Linked DNA regions of Homo sapiens: regions 1 and 3 are each linked to region 2. The links are contacts of gene promoters, found by promoter capture Hi-C in blood cells and fetal thymus (Javierre and others, 2016). All regions are on one chromosome and are shown on one strand. The core of a region is centred on a gene start or on the middle of the fragment in contact, and the rest is flanking DNA. Distances in the headings are between cores, read along the strand shown.

Region 1 (2,700 bases), core at 93-2,592, 1.7 Mb before region 2:
CCCTGCCTCCTGCCTTCGCCTCGGCGCAGCTCCCGCACCCCACATCCGCCCGCCGCTGCCCGGCCTCGCCCCCCGCCCGGCCGCCCCGCGCCCCGGCGCGCCCCCTCGCCTCGGCGCCGCGGGAGCAGCCGCCCGGCGGCGCGTGTGTACCCGTGTGTTTGTGTGCGGTGCCCCTACACCCTCCCCAGCCGCTCCCGCCTCGCCCGCCCCCGACTCCCCTCCTCCGCCGCCGCCTCCTCCACCTCCGCCTCCTCCTGCTCCAGCCGCCGCCGCCGCTGCCGCCGGCGGCTCGGGGGCCGACCAACCCCGGCGCAACCTTTAGCCAGGGACGGACCTCTCCCTGGATCCTGTACCCGGCGGCTGCTGCGCGCCCTCTCCCCGACACCCCCAAACGCCATGTCACGGCCCCCAGCCCTCCGCGCGCCCCGACCCCCGCACCCTCAGGCGCCGGAATCCACAAGGAATTTTTTTTTTTTTAAGATTCCAACCTCTCCCACCTCCCCCCACCAAACCCCCGATAAAACCCCCGGCATCCACACTACTCCCCTCCTCCCTTCTCTTGCCCCCTCCCCCCAGCAACCCAGAGTGAGGAGGGGGAAGGGGAGGGAAAGGGAAAAAAAAGCCCGATCTCAAGGAAAAAAAGGGGGGGGGTGAGAGAAAGAAAGAAAAAGAGAGAGAGAATAGAAAGGGCACGGGGCTGATCATCACCAACATGGCTGCCTCAGCATAGACCTAAACGAGGAGTAACCCGGGCTGTGTCTTTGTCAGTTTCACCTCTGTAACCCTAAACTAATGCAGAAAACAACGGAGGAGGCTGCGGAGGGGAAAGAGGAGAGGGAGGGCGAGAAAATGGCACGAGAGGAGGTGGAGAAGGGATGACTTACGTGAGGGAAGGCGCTTGGGCTGCTCCTGCTTCCTCCTGGGCATTTTCCCCCTTTTCTCACATTCTCCTCCTTGGTTAATGTGAGATCAAATAAACCCCCGTGGGGGCAGAGAGGCAGACACTGGCAGGAGCGGGGAGGTAGTTGGGGGGCGGGCGGGCGGGCAGGGGGAAACCCCTTCTCCGGTGTGTGCAATGGGTTGAAGCTTGTTTCCTGGAGCCAGAAGAGGGGTTTTCTTCTTTTCTTTCCTTTCTTTTTTCCTTTTTTTTTTTTTTTTAAATTTTTGGTCGTGCACCTGGCTTGTCCCCGAGCGTAATATTCTTCAATGGAAACGGATCTAATAGGTGTGAGTGTGTGTGTGTCCTATGCTCGCGTGTGTGATGGGAGGTATAAATAAATGAGTGCCGGTGCGGCGGTGTCTATGGCCGCGCTCTGTGTCTCCGAGCCCCTAACACTAATGTCGGGATCAAAGGGCAGCGGCGGCGGCAGCACAGCTCACAGCTCGCTCTCTTGCTCTCTCTCTCTCTCTTTCTCGCTCTCTCTCCTCTCGCGCTCTCTCTCTCGCTCTCTCTCTGTCACACACACACACACACAAGAGGCACAGACTGAGGGAAAGAGCGAGAGCTACACACACACACACGCACGCACACACACACACAGAGCAAAGAGGAAAGTGCCCCAAGGCTCCCAGGGCGGACTCAGCCTCGGATTTACAACCGCTCTGTCTGGAAAGAATGGGGGGCGCGCGTGCGGGGGTGGGATGGAGTTCTTCAAATTTATCCCGCTAGTCACCAAATCTAGGGGGAAAAAGTTTTTCTCACTCTTTAAACAACGATTAGTTCATTATTTTACTGACTTTTAAAAAGGAAATAAATTTCTCTCTTCACTTTCTTTTGTTTATTAAGCTACATTTTGTTCTGTATGAAATTCTGCAGGCTTTTGTCCCTACCCCATCACCTTAAATCTGGAGGTTATCGTCTCCCACACACTCTTCAAAAACATTCCAAAAAAACTAATTTAAAAAAAATGAAGACAACATATGGTGAAATCAATAACTTGGTTGACAGTTGACAGAATAAGTGCCCAGTTTTGGAGTGTCCACTGGAGTTAAAACTGAAAAATGCTCCTAAATGAACATTACAGCTACTTGACAAAGAGAGGAAAATAAGATTAGGTCACCCCTGATGGTTGCTTTAACTGCTACGTGATACTCCTAGAGTGCACACAGCAATCTTTACTTCGGAAATTCACTTTTTCCCCTGCTATATACTGCAGGTATATGAAGTTTACCCTGAAGCAATTCCAGTGTGCATTATGAGCCCAATATAGCAGTTTTCATTAACTGATACATACTTTCATTACCTTACAAATCACACATCTTTCTTCAAAGAGAGACATAAAGGAGAAAAATAGAAAAGGACGGGTCTCACTAGAGCACAAAAGGTACTTGGTGAAAGAGGACTGTTCTCTTTGTGACTTGCAGTCATTTGGATAAAAGTTCACTCAGAGGTTGTTAATGATTTAAACTCCAAAACCTGCTACTATAATTGAAATAAAAATGGTCTGAAGAAGAGTTGTTTCATAAAACTCTCTTTGTAAGAGGAAACTTTGAACTTAGCAGAATACATTATATGTCATGAGTCATGTAGCTAGAAAATAAAAAGGTGCATTATTTAACTACATCTTCCCTTTTTAGCTTTTTTAAAACTCTGACTCATCATCTTATTATGTTAAATATTTTCCTACCAATTTTTAAATAGACCTTTTCATCAAAGAAAGTGGAGGCACAGTAAAGACATAGAACATTAAAATGACACTC
Region 2 (2,700 bases), core at 150-2,649:
GAGTACCTGGGACTACAGGCTCCCGCCACCACAACTGGCTAATTTTTTGTATTTTTGGTAGAGACGGAGTTTCACTGTGTTAGCCAGGATAGTCTCGATTTCCTGACCTCATGATCCGCCCACCTCCGCCTCCCAAACTGCTGGGATTACAGGCATGAGCCCCTGCACCCAGCCTTAATTTCCATTTTTAAAGTAAGCTTAGGAAGAACAAACATAAGGCCTATTTTTCCGGTAGAAAGTAGTTTGGGTCAGGTTGTAAAATACAAATGTTAACAACTGAGAAGTAGGCAGTGAAGTCAAGTCCAAACAGACGATACCAAAAAAGGGGCTCATAATATTCCTTAGGTGTCTCTGTGAGACTCCTGGGCTAGGTGTACTCAATGTTACAAGCCTCCTTATCCGTATGGTCATTAGGCGGAAATTCCCCAGGTGGCAGGTACTAGCAGGTCAAATGCTTAAATATAATGCCCTTTGGAGTCACAAAGACCAAGGTTGCTATCTCCACACTACCACTTAACTAGCTCAGTGAGCCTGGGCAAATTTATCAGCCACTTGACTTTTTTATCTGTAAAGTGGAAAAATGCCTACCTCTCAAAATTTTTGTGCAGAACAACTTACATAATGTAGGTAATGAACTTAGTACAGTGCCTGTCCCCCTGAAAATTACAATTACAATATAAAACGCATTTGTATATGTAATTGAGTAGTAGATATTTGTTTACTCTATTGGTTTAGCTAAAGGCTTTAAGCATATGAAACTCCTTTGTCAGATGGAATGTCAACTTTTTAAAACTTAAATGAGTGCAAATTTTTAACACAAGTTCCAAATGTAGAAGGGACATTCCCTATTTGCGGTTAATTCTAAAATGAAGCTACCTTTAGAATGATCCTTCTGTAGGATCCAGAAATAACCAAGCGGCCTAGCCCCTAGATTCTAGCAACTGACAGAAAACTAGGTGGAGGTTTCCCATTCTTCCTTGTCTTCTTACTCCAGCGGGCTTCTGTATCCACTCTAGATTGAATAGGGGATGTTTTGTGTAGAGATGGGCCTTCTCTCTTCCAGTCCAACTCTGAAGTAACCGCCCCTTACCCAAGCTTTCTTTAAACTGGAATAACGCCAGCAGAAGAATGTAGTAGGTGTGCTTCAAGTGTCCTCAAATAATTCCCGCAGCTTCCAGAATCCTTGCAATAGCCCGCTGGACCATCTGCGGCAATTCCACCCACTTCCACGCACCTGCTCTTCTTTCTAACCCCAGTACGCAATCCTGCAGCCCCGCCCCCACAGCTGACCAATCAGAGGGCGCAAAGTGAGTCGGATGGGGCGGGCCCAGTTTGGCGCTGACGACGAATCACCTGCCTCAGACAGCAGGGGCGGAAGCGGAAAAGAGCTGAAAGTCTTGGTTTGGCCTTGGGTTCCGCTGTAGGGGAGGTCCCGTGCGAAAGAATGAGGAGATCCTGGGGCCTTACCTACTAGCGGAATCGACTGAAGAGACGCCTGCCAGTGCGGGAGGTAGGAAGCTCGATCCCCAAAGAAAAGAGCGAGTGGGCAGGCAGCTGCGAGACAGAACCGGAGTGTGCAGGGTCCCTAGAGGCCGGTTCCTGGTCTGTGCTGCTCTCCTGGAAGCCATGGTACAGGCAGAGCTCAGGGCGATCCCCAGGTGAGGGCAGCGGCTCTGCCTGGGATTCCACCGCAGTACAACCGGGTAGATGCGGGGTGGAGAAGAAAGGATGTTGCCTGCACTGCTCGCCAATAGCACCCTGAGAGGCTACATTTGCAGAAGCAGCAGCAGCAGAAGACACAGCGCCGGTCCAGGAGGCGGCTCGAGCTGTTCGTAAAGTCGCCCGACAGCTTTTTCTCCGTAGTATGCGAGTTGACAAAACAGCCAGAGAACAGGGCTCCCCATTACAATCTTTTCGAGATCTTTTCCCTTGCTAACCGGATCTGATTTGTGCGAAAACATGCCTTGCACTTGTACCTGGAGGAACTGGAGACAGTGGATTCGACCTTTAGTAGCGGTCATCTACCTGGTGTCAATAGTGGTTGCGGTTCCCCTATGCGTGTGGGAATTACAGAAACTGGAGGTAAGAGGGTTCTGCACCATCAGCCTGTACACTTTCTTCTACCCATCTATGGTTGGGAAAGAGACACCCTTACCCCATTTCTGCCCTGACAGTCCTGAAAACCATCTAATGTAAACGAGCCTACTCTTAGGATATAAACCTGTCTAATTTCTTGTTCACGGTTCTTCAAGTCATGCTACAGGTGGAGGTGGGACCGGGTCGAGAAAATAGAATATATTAATATAGCTGCTTAGAAGGGCACTGTTTTGCAAGTATTCATCAGTTCCCTGAAAGTAAGGTAATTTTATTGCTGAAATCTGATCTGTTCAGACATTGGACGAAACTAGGTCAAATAAACTACCTTGAAAACCATGTATTGAATTTTATTAGCTTTTAACTAGCTTCTTGAATCAAAGCGTTCTAGTTGTTTTAACTTTGGTGTCTGTTTTTACTGTGGAAATTAGCTCTTACCCAACAAAGGTTTTGCAAAAAGTCCCTTATATATATTTTTTGATGTCATATGCTTATTGTGACATCAGTAATGTACTACAAGCTGGAAAACCCCAAGGTAAATAACTCAGATATAAATATTATATAATGAACTTTAAATTCGGAGTTAATAAAACCCACCAAGTACTT
Region 3 (2,700 bases), core at 10-2,509, 1.4 Mb before region 2:
ACTATAGAACTGTAGAAGGGACAAACAATGAAGTGGCAAGAGTTCTCTTAGCATTTATATATCTGCATTTGTCTATTTTAAGCATAATAGCTTCAAGAGAATGAAAAGACAAGCCATAAACTGGGAGAAAATATTTGTAAAACACATATCTGATAAAGAACTATTATTCAAAATATACAAAGGACTCTTAAAACTCAACAAAAAGAAAGAACAAACTGATTCAAAATTGGGCCAAAGACCTGAACAACCAAAGATATACATATGGCAAATAAGTATATAGAAAGATCCTCCATATCATATGTCACTAGGGAATTACAACTTTAAACAACTATGAGATAGTCACTAAGCAGCTATTAGACTAGTCAAAATCCAAAGGACTGGAAGCACCAAATGCCCATGAGGATGTGGAACAATGGAAACTCTCATTCACTCCTAGTGGGAATGCAAAATGGTACAGCCACATTGTAAGACAGTTTGGCAGTTTCTTACAAAACTAAACATACCCTTGCTATATGATCTAGCAGTCATACTCCTTGATATTTGCCCAAATAAGCTGAAAACTTATTTCTATACAAAAACCTGCATACACATATTCATAGCAGCTTTATTCATAACTTCCCAAACTTGGAAGCAACCAAGATGTCCTTCTGTAGGTAAATGGATAAATAAACTGTGGTACATCCAAATAATGGAATATTATTCAGAACTTAAAAGAAATGAGTTGTCAAGCCATGAAAAGGCGCAGAGGGGTCTTAAATGCATATTTCTAAGTGAAAGAAGCCAGTCTGAACAGGCTACACAGTGGGGTGGTGCAGTGTATGCACCACTAACTGTGTACGGTATGATTCCAAATATATGATATTGTGGAAAAAGGCAAAACTTTGGAGACAGAAAAAAGATCAGCGGTTGCCAGTGGGGAGGAAGGGATAAATAGGTGGAGCACAGAGAATTTTTAGGGCAGTGAAACTATTCTGTATGATACTGTAATTGTGGGTACATTTCATTATGCATTTGTCAAAACCTATAGAATGTGCAACACCAAGAGTGAACCCTAATGTAAACTTTGGCCTTTGGATGATAATGATGTGTCAGTGTAGGTTCATCAGTCCTAACAACTAAATGAAACTAAACTACATAAGTTAAACTAAAGCTTGCCAAAATATTTTTATGACTTTAAGGCTCCTTAATAAATTAATGTTTACATTCAGGGTTTTGAAGACTAGTATTCACCAAAAGTCTTGCAGTGTTTTCTTTGCATCATAAAAGATGCTGAAAGCAAAAACCTGGGAAATACGGAAAATTGCCTTGTGAGTTAGTAAAAGTCATTTATAAGCTGCTGAGGGGCTTTTGGGAACAGCCACACTTTTTATAAGCTTGTTAGCTCATGAATTAATTCAGGATGCCCACCCCGTGTGTCAAACTGGGCCCTTACCCAGCTACTCCCCTTAGAGAAGGTTGCAGCTGCTCAGCAGATGAACTAGGCCCTTAAAACTCCTCATGGCTCCCTACCCACCACACTAGTGTTAACGGCTCGATTAGGGCTCTGTAGGAAAGGGAAAGAAGTTTGAATCAAAAATTTTCTTTTTTTTTTTAATAATTTAAACAATCAGTAAGGAATGTGCAATTTGATGTCGTTTGCAAAGAAAGTTTTTAGGAACAGGGCTTTTTATCCTATTATGTTTGTTCTTTGCACGTAATTATTTGATTTAAATGGTACTTTTCTTAAAATTTTTATTTACATTGTATTTTATATTGCAAGAACTTCAAATACAGCCCTCACAATAAATCAGTAACTGTTCGGTCTTTATCCAAACTGAACTTTTATAGAAGGATATAAGGAAGTCTCTATTCTTTAACAAATCATATCCAGTTGTTTTCTGTCCCTGATATCAATCAAAAGTTCATTTCTTCTGCCTTTAACCAAAAGAAGTTTACAAGGGAGGAACTCTTTATCTTCGAAAAAAATTTTGCATCTTAGATTTTATAACACCTAATGGGGTTAAGGATCTGTGTTGAAAGATCTTATCACTCTGTGTATAGTGTTACAAATCATAAATATAATTAAAGTATAAGTTTTCAACTGATGAGAGTATATGTGGAGGGGGAAAAACGAATCAAGTCCTGGTGTAACAGTTCTCTTCTTTTTCCCTTTCAATTCCATTAATAGAAAGAGTATTGAGAATTCATGCAAAATTCCAAACCAAGTTCCCATAGTAGCACTGAAATAAGTCTGCACACCATTTCCAATAGGAACTAGTAATGTAACACAATTAATGTCATTATAATTTGGAGTTACTTGAGTGATTTTGATTATTTTTGTATCAATTAACATTGCCATGGAAACAGTCTCTTGCTAAAATGGCTTAAGTCTTCACACATTTAATCAATATCCAGAGGTAGATTTAAAGACTTGAGGTGTTTCATTTATTTATTTATTTGCTTTAAACTATTCAAGGACGTTTCTGGGTACACAATGCCGTTACTTAAACAGTAAATTCCAGTTTCCTATGACTTCAAGTTATTTTTTACACTTCTGTAAATAAATCCTGCCCAAAAGATCACTTCTAGTTTCCTGGAATTTTGTTTTTGTTTTGTATTGTATTTGTTTTGTACTCAGATTTCTGTTAGAGGAACTCCACTGCACCAATTTTGCTACTAGACAAACCAGGAATCTTGGATTTGCGCGCTTTGGTGCTGACA

What was found. The method cuts DNA at HindIII sites, captures the fragments that hold promoters and counts their contacts. A CHiCAGO score of 5 or more calls a contact.
Region 1: a contact is called between the fragment with the promoter of ZNF827 here and the fragment with the promoter of TMEM184C in region 2, in 3 of 17 cell types (erythroblasts, fetal thymus and non-activated CD4 T cells). The highest score is 9.4, in erythroblasts.
Region 3: a fragment that was not itself captured here is called in contact with the fragment with the promoter of TMEM184C in region 2 in 2 of 17 cell types (total CD8 T cells and fetal thymus); the score reaches 5.6 in total CD8 T cells.

The regions. Positions count from the first base shown.
Region 1 is chr4:145,937,481-145,940,180 of GRCh38, forward strand. It overlaps ZNF827 (zinc finger protein 827), which reads right to left and starts at 1,343. Exons shown (of 15, transcript NM_001306215.2): 1 at 885-1,343. The coding sequence starts at 927. RefSeq lists silencers at 1-95, 216-285 and an enhancer at 660-719. The HindIII fragment of the contact is 1,765 bases long and covers 1,085-2,700 here.
Region 2 is chr4:147,615,998-147,618,697 of GRCh38, forward strand. It overlaps TMEM184C (transmembrane protein 184C), which reads left to right and starts at 1,400. Exons shown (of 10, transcript NM_018241.3): 1 at 1,400-2,082. The coding sequence starts at 1,960. TMEM184C-DT (TMEM184C divergent transcript) reads right to left here and starts at 1,248. Exons shown (of 2, transcript NR_186679.1): 1 at 1,091-1,248. RefSeq lists enhancers at 1,620-1,739, 1,770-1,819. The HindIII fragment of the contact is 5,941 bases long and covers 1,094-2,700 here.
Region 3 is chr4:146,172,951-146,175,650 of GRCh38, forward strand. No RefSeq gene overlaps it. Among named protein-coding and RNA genes, the nearest start is that of LSM6, 1.4 kb to the right of the region's middle. The HindIII fragment of the contact is 223 bases long and covers 1,149-1,371 here.